2 separate regions of the Homo sapiens genome follow, and region 1 is linked to region 2. Evidence: promoter capture Hi-C in 16 types of primary human blood cells and fetal thymus (Javierre and others, 2016). All regions are on one chromosome and are shown on one strand. The core of a region is centred on a gene start or on the middle of the fragment in contact, and the rest is flanking DNA. Distances in the headings are between cores, read along the strand shown. Region 1 has its middle 23 kb from the start of CD300E. Region 2 holds the start of GPRC5C (G protein-coupled receptor class C group 5 member C).

Region 1 (4,638 bases), core at 985-3,484, 210 kb before region 2:
GTTCTTGGATCAAGTGTGGTGATGTTTTCTGGCTGCTGCTGGGTCAGATGGGAGCCAACTGTTCCCAGAGGCTAAAACCACAAACAGGACAGTCCATGGAGGCTCCGTGCCCCTTAGGGACCTAGAATCCTGACGGGTCTAGCTGAGGGCTCTTGGCATGGCTGGCCAGGAAGAGGGAACTTGTTTCTGATTCTCAGCAGGCAGAATCCTGTGGATGAAGTTATTCTGTCTCTATCGATATGAGCTCTGGAGCAGCTCAGCTCTGGAGCTGTGAAAGCCTGGCACACGCACACCCACCCTCGCTTCCCTCTCTCATCAGCCATCACTCTTCACTCAGTACTCAGTGGCTGTGATAGCCCAGGAGGCCCAAGCTCAGCCCCATCCTTCTCAACTCACTTTTCCAGGCACACCTCCAACTGATTGGAGGGGACAAAAGTACATTTTTCCATCCCTGGGAAATGCAACGTGCCAGGCACTATCACCCACTGGATGCTAGGTTTCAGCTTCAGGCGAGGCAGTGAGAACCCTCCTCAGCTGCTACCCTCCCCTGCCCTCCCCTCTCCCTCCTTCCCCATGGGATCTGTAGGGCCCGCAGCTCTGCATTGGCTTTGCTCAGACACACCAGCCTCAGGGTGCAGCTGCTATGCACTGGGGGACTGCACTGCCTCTCCTGTCACTGTGAGTCCTGGCATCTTAGTTCTCAAACATGCAGTTGAGTCAAGAAGAATGATGGCCATTCCTTCATCTCCTGACTTTTAGGATCTGGGCTAAGCTAGGACACAAACCAGGCTCAGAAATGAGGCTTTGGCTCCTGGCACCCACAGCTCTGGATTTGCAGGACAGATAAGACACGGAGCCTGCCCCGGAGCTCTTTCAGCCAGCTTCCCCACAGACAGCAGTTGGAGCTGCTGGGCCAGGCTTTGCTGGGTCCATTTAGCTTGGGGCATCTGAGAGGGGACGGTGGTGTCCTTTATCTCCAGGACTCCCACAGAGCCAGTGGACTCTGCAGCTGGGCTCTGGGTGCCTTGTGGCCGTCCTTGGGAGGTTGCCACTTGACCAAGGGAAGGAGATGGAGAGACAGCCTGAGATTTGGGGTGTGTAGAAGCTTCTCCCTCTGATTGCCCTGAATTTAGGTGAGATTTCAGTGGCATTGGAAATCTAAACTTAGGTTTGGAAAGGAGTTTCAGGCCAGGTGCGGTGGCTCATGCCTGTAACCCCAGCACTTTGGGAGGCCAAGGCAGGCTGATCACCTGAGGTCAGGAATTCGAGATCAGCTTGGCCAACATGGCAAAACTCCATCTCTACTAAACACACACACACACACACACACACACACACACACACATCAACTGGGCATGGTTGTGGGCACCTGTAATCCCAGCTACTTGGGAGGCTGAGGCAGGAGAATCGCTTGAACCTGGGAGGTGAAGATCGCAGTGAGCTGAGATTGCACCACTGCACTCCAGCCTGGGCGACAGAGTGAGACTCCGTCTCTGAAAAATAGAAAAGACTGGAGTTTCAGAGTGTGGTGGCCCTCCTGGGAGGACCCAGGGATGTGTGATTGTGCCATACAGTTTATGCATCTGGATAATAATAATAATACCTACTTTGTTTGACTTGCACGGGATTTAAGCAAAGTAATAACAGAAAGCATCTAAAGTGGTCTCTGAAACAAAGTAAACTCAGTAATTCTTAGCAATTATTATGTCTCTGGCCATGGCTGGCAGACCCTGGACCTGAACCTGGGTAGCAAATGTCACACTGCCCTGCTCTTGTTCTTTTTCTTTTTCTTTTGTGACAGAGTCTCTCTCTGTTGCTCAGGCTGGAGTGCAGTGGTGTGATCTTGGCTCACTGCAACTGCCACCTCACAGGTTCACGCGATTCTCCTGCCTCAGTCTCCTGAGTAGCTGGGACTACAGGTGCCTGCCACCATGCCCAGCTAATTTTTGTATTTTTAGTAGAGACAGGGTTTCACATATTGGCCAGGCTGGTCTCAAACTCCCGACCTTGTGATCCACCCACCTCGGCCTCCCAAAGTGCTGGGATTACAGGGGTGAGCCACTGCACCTGGCCCCTGCACTTCTTTAATATTGTGCCTGGAAGGTGCTGGGCATGGAGTGGATGTTGCATGACTGCTTCTTGCAGAGCCTCAAGAGAGCAGGGAAGGCTGGGCTTCCCAAGTAGACTTAAAGGATTGTGTGTTTGTGCTTTTGTTTTTGGGGTATTTGTTCATTCATTCATTCATTCATTCAAGAAAACTATATAGAGCATATATTGTGGGCACTGGATGTTGGAAATGCAATGGTGAGCAAAGAAGACCCATTTCTTGCCTTCTTGAGGCTTATAGCCCAGTAGGGGGAGACAGACATTAATCAAATGTGCACCAATAAATGTCCCATTACAACCACCATAGAAGAAGGAGGTGCTCTGGGAACTTCCATTAGGGGCATTGATTCAACTGGGCTCCAGCGATGTCTCACCCCATCCACTTCCCCCACATGGCCTAGCCCACCGTTGTCTCACACCTGGAAGGCTACAATTGCTTATTCATGTCTCCCAGTTTCCTGCCTTACCTCTGTCAATTGTTTTTTCCTCGCAGCAGCCCGTGTGATCCTTTTAAAGTAAGCCAGGTCACGTAATTCTCCAATGGCTCCCTGCATCATTCAGAGTCAAATCCAACTCCCTATTAAGGCCTATGGGCCCTTAAATGATGACTCTGTTTCCTTTCTGATCTCGTCTCATTCCACTCTTGCCCTCATTCCCTCTTCCTGAGCCATGGTGGCCTCTGCTCCCACCCCAGGACTTTTGCACAGCAGCCCCCTCTACCTTGCACTCTTTTTTTTTTTTGAGATGGTGTCTCCTGTCACCCAGGCTGGAGTGCAGTGGCGCGATCTCGGCTCACTGCAGGCTCCGCCCCCTGGGGTTCACACCATTCTCTTGCCTCAGCCTCCCGAGTAGGTGGGACTACAGACGCCTGCCACCTTGCCCAGCTAATTTTTTGTATTTTTAGTAGAGACGGGGTTTCACCGTGTTAGCCAGGATGGTCTCGATCTCCTGACCTCGTGATCCGCCCACCTTGGCCTCCCAAAATGCTGGGATTACAGGCGTGAGCCACCGCACCCGGCCTACCTTGCACTCTTCACCTGCAGCTGTCAGTGTGGCTCCCACCCTTCTTTCAGGTCTCTGTTAAAATAAGATAACACTTTATCATAGATACCTTCTCTATAGATATTAATACAATAGCATTTGCCTCCCCTCACTCCCTCTACCCTTTTTGTCTTCGGGGCACTTATGACCACCTGGTACATTTTATATGTGTTTATTTTCTCCTCTCCCCCTCCCCCTAGGAGAATGTAAGCTTCCTGAGGACAGAAGCTTGATTTGTTTGTTGCTGCATTCCAGCACCTAGCACGGTATTTGGCATGTAGTAGGTGTCCAGTAAATATTTGTTGAGTTGAATGAATGATAATTTATTTGAGATTTGGAGGAAGAGTATGAGTTAACCAAGCAAAGAGAGGAAAGGAGCATTTTAGGCCCAGGAAACAGTGTGTGAACAGTCACTGTAATCAAGGGAATGTGTTCTGTCTGAGGAACCAAAATCTTTGTGGTTGCCCCTTGGGGATTAAGTGGGAGGTTATTATGGCTTGAGGCTTGGGAGGTCAGCAGGGGCCAAACTGAGGTCCAGTAGAGGAGTTGTAAGAGCCCTGGGAGGCTGTTAATGTTTCTTACAGGGGGAGTGGCAAGATCAGATTTGTTTGCAAAAATACCATTCTGGCTGCACAGTGGCGAAAAACTAAGAGTGAACGTGGGCAGACCACCTGGGAGGCTATTGACAGACGATGGTAGCTTGGGCTAGGTTGGCAGAGAAGGAGATAGAGAGATGGACAAATCTGAGAGCTTTAACAGGAGGCAACATTGAATGGGCTCCAGGCAGGACAGAGTGTGGGGATGAAGACACAGAGGGGTCAGGGATGAAAACTAGGAAACAGTGTAAGGTGATGGGACTCCTTTCTGGAGGGCATAATTGTGAGTTTACTTTGGACTTGTTGAGTTGGATGCATCTTTGAGACGGCTCAAGTGCAGATATCAAGGAGAGGGATGGCAAGGAGGTCTGAGGTTAGAAGAATGTTTGGACTGGAGATTGAGTTTTCCAGGAATCTGCTCAAAATGGTTTTTAGACCCAGGCTCTGACTGACTTTGAGGATAGTTATCTTGGGATCTGTAGCTTTATGTCTTGCTGAAACTGGGAAAATTTTAGCCGTTATGTTTTCAAATACCTTTTTGCAACTCTGCTTTCTTTCTTTTCTTCTTCTGGAACTTCAATGACATGAATGTTTGCTCTTTTATTACAGTCCCACAGCTACCTAAGGCTCTGTTCATCTTTTAAAGTCTATTTTCTCTCTTTTGCTCAGATCAGACAATTTCTATTGTTCTGTGTTCAAGTTCACCGATTCTTTCCTCTGTCCTCTCCCTCCTGATGTTGAGCCCATTAGCTGAATTTAAAAAATTTAGTTATCATATTTTTCATTTGTAAAATGTCCACTTGCTACTTCTTTGTGTCTATTTCCTTGCTGAGATTTTCTATCTTTTCATATATTTCAAGCATGTTGAGGAGATTGCCATAGCATTGTGTTTGAA
Region 2 (4,760 bases), core at 2,174-4,673:
CCAGGCTGCTGCTTTTAGTAAGTTGCTGAGTAACTTAACAGCCTCAGAGGAAACAACCTGGTCCCATCCTGAAATATCTTATTTCTCTGGTTCCCCCAGAAATGGAAGGGCAGGTGGGAAGACAGAAATACATGGACTCAGGTGGGAAACCTGGGCTTTCTGGGCGTGGCTCTCATCCACTGCCTAGGACAGGGACCCTCAGAGAGTTAAAGAGAAGCTCAGAAGAGCACAGCTCCAGCCCTCTGATGCCGGGAGTGCACATTCAGCCAATGCCTTTTTTTTTTCTTTTTTTGAGACGGAGTCTCGCTCTGTCGCCCAGGCTGGAGCGCAGTGGCGTGATCTCGGCTCACTGCAAGCTCCGCCTCCCAGGTTCATGCCATTCTCCTGCCTCAGCCTCCCGAGTAGCTGGGACTACAGGCGCCCGCCACCACGCCCGGCTAATTTTTTCTATTTTTAGTAGAGACGGGGTTTCACCGTGTTAGCTAGGATGGTCTCAATCTCCTGACCTCGTGATCCGCCCGCTTCGGCCTCCCAAAGTGCTGGGATTACAGGCGTGAGCCACTGCGCCCAGCCTTTTTTTTTTTCTTGAGACGAAGCTTCACTCTTGTTGCCCAGACTGGAGTGCAATGGCATGATCTCGGCTCACTGCAACCTCCAACTCCCAGGTTCAAGCAATTCTCCTGCCTCAGCCTCCCGAGTAGCTGGGATTACAGGTGCCCACCACCATGCCCAACTAATTTTTGTATTTTTAGTAGAGACAGGGTTTCACTATGTTGGCCAGGCTGGTCTCAAACTCCTGACCTAAGGTGATCCACCTACCTCAGCCTCTCAAAGTGCTGGGATTACAAGTGTGAGCCACCGTTCCCGGCCCAATGCCACCTTTTAAGATGGTGGCTAAGGGACTGACAAGATGGACTCAGCTCTGGTCAGAGGCTTTTCCTCAGGACCCTGGAGGAAACTTCTGCCTCCTGTGGGTCCCCAGACCCTGCACTAAGACTGAGCCTTCTGATCCCTGAACGTTCAAATCATGTCCGTGTCTCCCCTCCAGGGCTGTAAGGTCTTTGAAGCTGGTGAACAAGACTTCTAGAATCCACTGCCACAGCTGGTGCTGTGCCTGAACACAGTGGGCATTTGGAAGTCACCTCTGGATGGTCCCAGGTGCATTTCTCCACACCCAGGGTTGTCCCCTCCATGTTGGAGTTGCATCTTCTGCTTAAAGATTCTCAGAGGGTTCAAGGAGGGGGGTAGGAGGGGAACCTCCTTCCGCCCTGAGTCTCCCCCACCCCACAGCTGAAGCCCAGCTCCAGCCTCAGATTATTTTCTGGACAAAAGGGCCTTTTGCTTCACTTCCCTGGAATCAGTTGTACAAATATTTTTAATCGCCTCCGAAATCGGCCTTTCCCCAGGCTCAGCCACCCTGCCCCCAGCTCTCCTGTGAGTCAGTGCAGTCCAGTTGCTGAACCTCCCTCCTCCCTCCTTCTCTCTCCAGGGGGCGCAGAGGCCTGGTGGGCTCAGAGGCTCAGAGGCCCAGAGGCCCAAGCAGCCCTGACTGGTTTCCCCCAGCAACAAGTGGCTTCATCCAGCAACCGGGGAGACAGCCAGGCCTTCTCACTTCTCCAGAGCAAAACTCCCTTCCTCGCTCCAGCATCATCCACACACAAGCCTGAGACCCCCTCCACCCACCAGGGCCAAGGATACCGCACTGGAAAGAGAGCTCCAGCGCGTCACAGGGCCAACCAAACTCAACACTGACCCATGGCCAATGGCTGTCTTCAAGGGTGCTGTGACCAGGGCACTCTTCAGGGAGGTTCCCCCAGGGATACCACAGAGCACTTGCCTTCCTCCCATCCCACACACTCAAGAGCCTATAGGGAAAGACGATGGCCCGACTGACAGCCTTCCTGCCTCCACTCCTATCGGTCTCTCCCAGTCCCTGGTTAGGTCCCACTGTCTCACCCCTCTGTGCAGGGCGCTCAGGCGTTTACCCCATCGATAAGAAGGCGCACAGGAGACGCCTGTGCCTGGAAGGAGCGGCCTCAGTGTGTAGGTTGGTGGGGGGTGGGTTGGGGTTCCTCGAACCTCAGCCTAGACACCCCACCCCTATCCCCCTGCCCCTGCCCCGCACCAAGACCAGGCATTTGGGCCAAAATGCCCTGAGCTCTCTGAGACTTGGAAATCTTCAAGGGTCTGCTCTGGAATGTCACTCTGGAATGCGCCCCACCCCCCAATGCACTCCCTCCCCCAGTCCAGTTGAAGGCACAGGGGTGGGGGGCCGGCGGGGAGAGGAAGCTCCAGGAGCACAAAACCCTACTTCCAACAGTCTCCTCTCCCGGGCTTTAGGATCTTGATCGTGGAGTTTGTAAGTGATTGGGTCTTCCAGCGTGTAACACTGCGGGCCTGGGGATGGAGGTGCAAAGGACGCTGGAAAAGCCAGCCGGGAGTGGGGGTTCGGGATCTAGGGGCCAGGCTACCAGAAGGGGAGGCGCTTTGATAGTCTGAATTTCCAAACTTCCCTCAGGGGGATTCTGAACCCTCTCGTCCCTACTTGGGTCGACGGTACTGGGGTCTACACCTGCGCTCCCTGGGTGGCTGGAATGGGGAGCAAGGGAACCAGTCACTCTCTCCCATTTTTAGGGCCACAGAAACCTGCCCTCCACATCCACAGTAGCAGGCGGCAGAGAGGACGCCACCCACGAGAGAGAGTGACCGCGGACTCCCACCGAGAGGCAGGCGGTGGAGGGGCTCCTCTTGGAGACCCCGATTATGGAGTGGTTTCCCCTCCCTCCAGCCCGAGCCGCAGCGCCGGGCTCCCCCACCCCCCCAGTCCCCAGCCGGCTCGGGTTTGAAAACTTTCAGCGACCGAGCGGAGTTGGCGCGGCGTCCCCAGCCCGCAGGATGTCCAGTCCCCCCGCCTCTGCCCTCGCCCACTCCCCGCCGTCCCGACCCGACTCTTCCGGGCGGCGGAGCGGGAAGGCAGCAGCCCTTACCTGGGACTCGCCGCCGGCCCCGCTCCAGCGCAGCGTTTGGGGCCAACTCCAGCCCCAGGCGGGGGGCGGGCGGGGGTGGGAGGGACGCGGCGCGGGGCGCTGGGCCAGGCCCGGTCCTGGCTGGGATGGCGGGGCCCGGGCCGGGACGCAGGGCCTGCCTCTCCCTGGGACCGAGGCTGAGCCAGGCGCGCTGGGTTGCTCGCTCTCGCGCGGGCCTGTCCCCAGGCAGGGCTCCTTGCTTTCGGCGAGGGTGGGCTGGAGCCTGCATCACCGTTACATCACCTCCATTCAGGGCGCTAATCGGGCGCCCGCCGCGCTCCAGGTACGTGCGCTCCGTTTACACAGGAACAAAGCCTGCCCGGCCCTCCCCGCCCCGACTCACCTCCAGGCTGAGCCGACTCGTACTTTCCGGCTGGTGAGGGAGATGGGAGTTTCTGGCCCTGCCGGCGTGTGGGTTGTTGCTGTTGACTGCCACGCCCCCGCATGCGGGCGCGCGCACACTCACGCGCACTCACTTTCTGGGCTCGGCCTTCGCCGGGGCAATTGGTGTGAGGGTGCAGCCCTGCGCACCCCCCACCGCGTCTTCCAGAGAGCGCGCCTACGGACACGCGCGGGGCTACCTTGGCGCGTCTCCGTGGGGGACACCTAGCCTTTGTCACCTTCGTCCTGGCCCTCCCGTGAGACACACTTCAGGCACAGTTCGCTGGGAGCGGGCCGGAGCGAGGCGCACACTCAAGACAGAGTCCGTCTTTGTCACGCCTTCTGCGCCCCCTCCCCTCCCCAGCTTGCACACGTGGACACACCGCACACCGAGGTTCGCCTTTTGCACGCACGGTCCTTCTCTGGGACCTCCACCAGTCACCAAGCGTACGTGGGATCGTCACCAAGCGCTCCTCTCACGCGTGGGCCGAGTCCAGACCACTCTGGACCGTGGGCAAAGGTCCCCCTCGGCCCGACTACCCCGCGCCCGGGTTTCCTGTGACCGTTCCAGGTTCTGCCCAACTCGGAGCGCGCTCTCCCCTCCCGGCGTCCCCGTTCCCTGCTCCGACTTGTCCTAATTAGCCTTCACGGTTTTGTTCCCCGAGGTACAGTGTTTAGCGCGACCCCCTGGGCCTCTGCGCTCCGGGACACGTTGGCTCTGACTCCGAGTCCGTCCTTTCCAGGAGGTCAGGTTCCCACCAGCCCCACCCCCCACTCCCTGTTCCGGGGTGGATCTGTGGGTTGCCACCCTTTCCCCTCCGGCCCCAGGAATCTGCTGAAGCTGGACCGCAGAAATTGGGAAGCGAATCCAGGCTGGTACTTATCCAGCCCGATAAACAAGAGATTTTCCGGCCGCCTTCCCCCGGGGCTGCTGGCCTCGCGGGGGGTGGGGTGCGCAGTCCTGGGGGCCCGCAGCGAGGCCTAGTTAGCCCGCGCCAGAGGCCCGTAGGGGCTGAGGCGCACAGAGGAGGGAGAGGTTGTTGGGCCTGGCCAGGGCCCTGGAGACGCGGAGGGAGGGCAGGGCGCCGAGTCTCGGGGTGCCGGTTCTCATGACGCCGAATTGCCTGGGGGATCGCCAGCGGTGCGCCGGTCGGAGCCAGCTGGTGGCGGGGCGGGCGGCCCGGAGTGTTTGCTCAACCCTGAGCGCCCGCGAGGGGGAGGGGAGGCAGCTGGTCACGGGCTAGGGGGTAGCAAGGTGGAGGAGCGGGGGCTGGGAAAGGGGAGGGTATCTCCCGGGCTGCTTGTTTGCGTGCCTGCCGCGGTCTACGACAACCGGGAGTCTAAACTCTATGA

What was found. The method cuts DNA at HindIII sites, captures the fragments that hold promoters and counts their contacts. A CHiCAGO score of 5 or more calls a contact.
Region 1: a contact is called between a fragment that was not itself captured here and the fragment with the promoter of GPRC5C in region 2, in 1 of 17 cell types (neutrophils). The highest score is 5.3, in neutrophils.

What each region holds. Positions count from the first base shown.
Region 1 is chr17:74,644,196-74,648,833 of GRCh38, reverse strand. No RefSeq gene overlaps it. Among named protein-coding and RNA genes, the nearest start is that of CD300E, 23 kb to the right of the region's middle. The HindIII fragment of the contact is 2,253 bases long and covers 1,108-3,360 here.
Region 2 is chr17:74,430,751-74,435,510 of GRCh38, reverse strand. GPRC5C (G protein-coupled receptor class C group 5 member C) reads right to left here and starts at 3,423. Exons shown (of 4, transcript NM_022036.4): 1 at 3,370-3,423. RefSeq lists a silencer at 4,411-4,550. The HindIII fragment of the contact is 4,765 bases long and covers 599-4,760 here.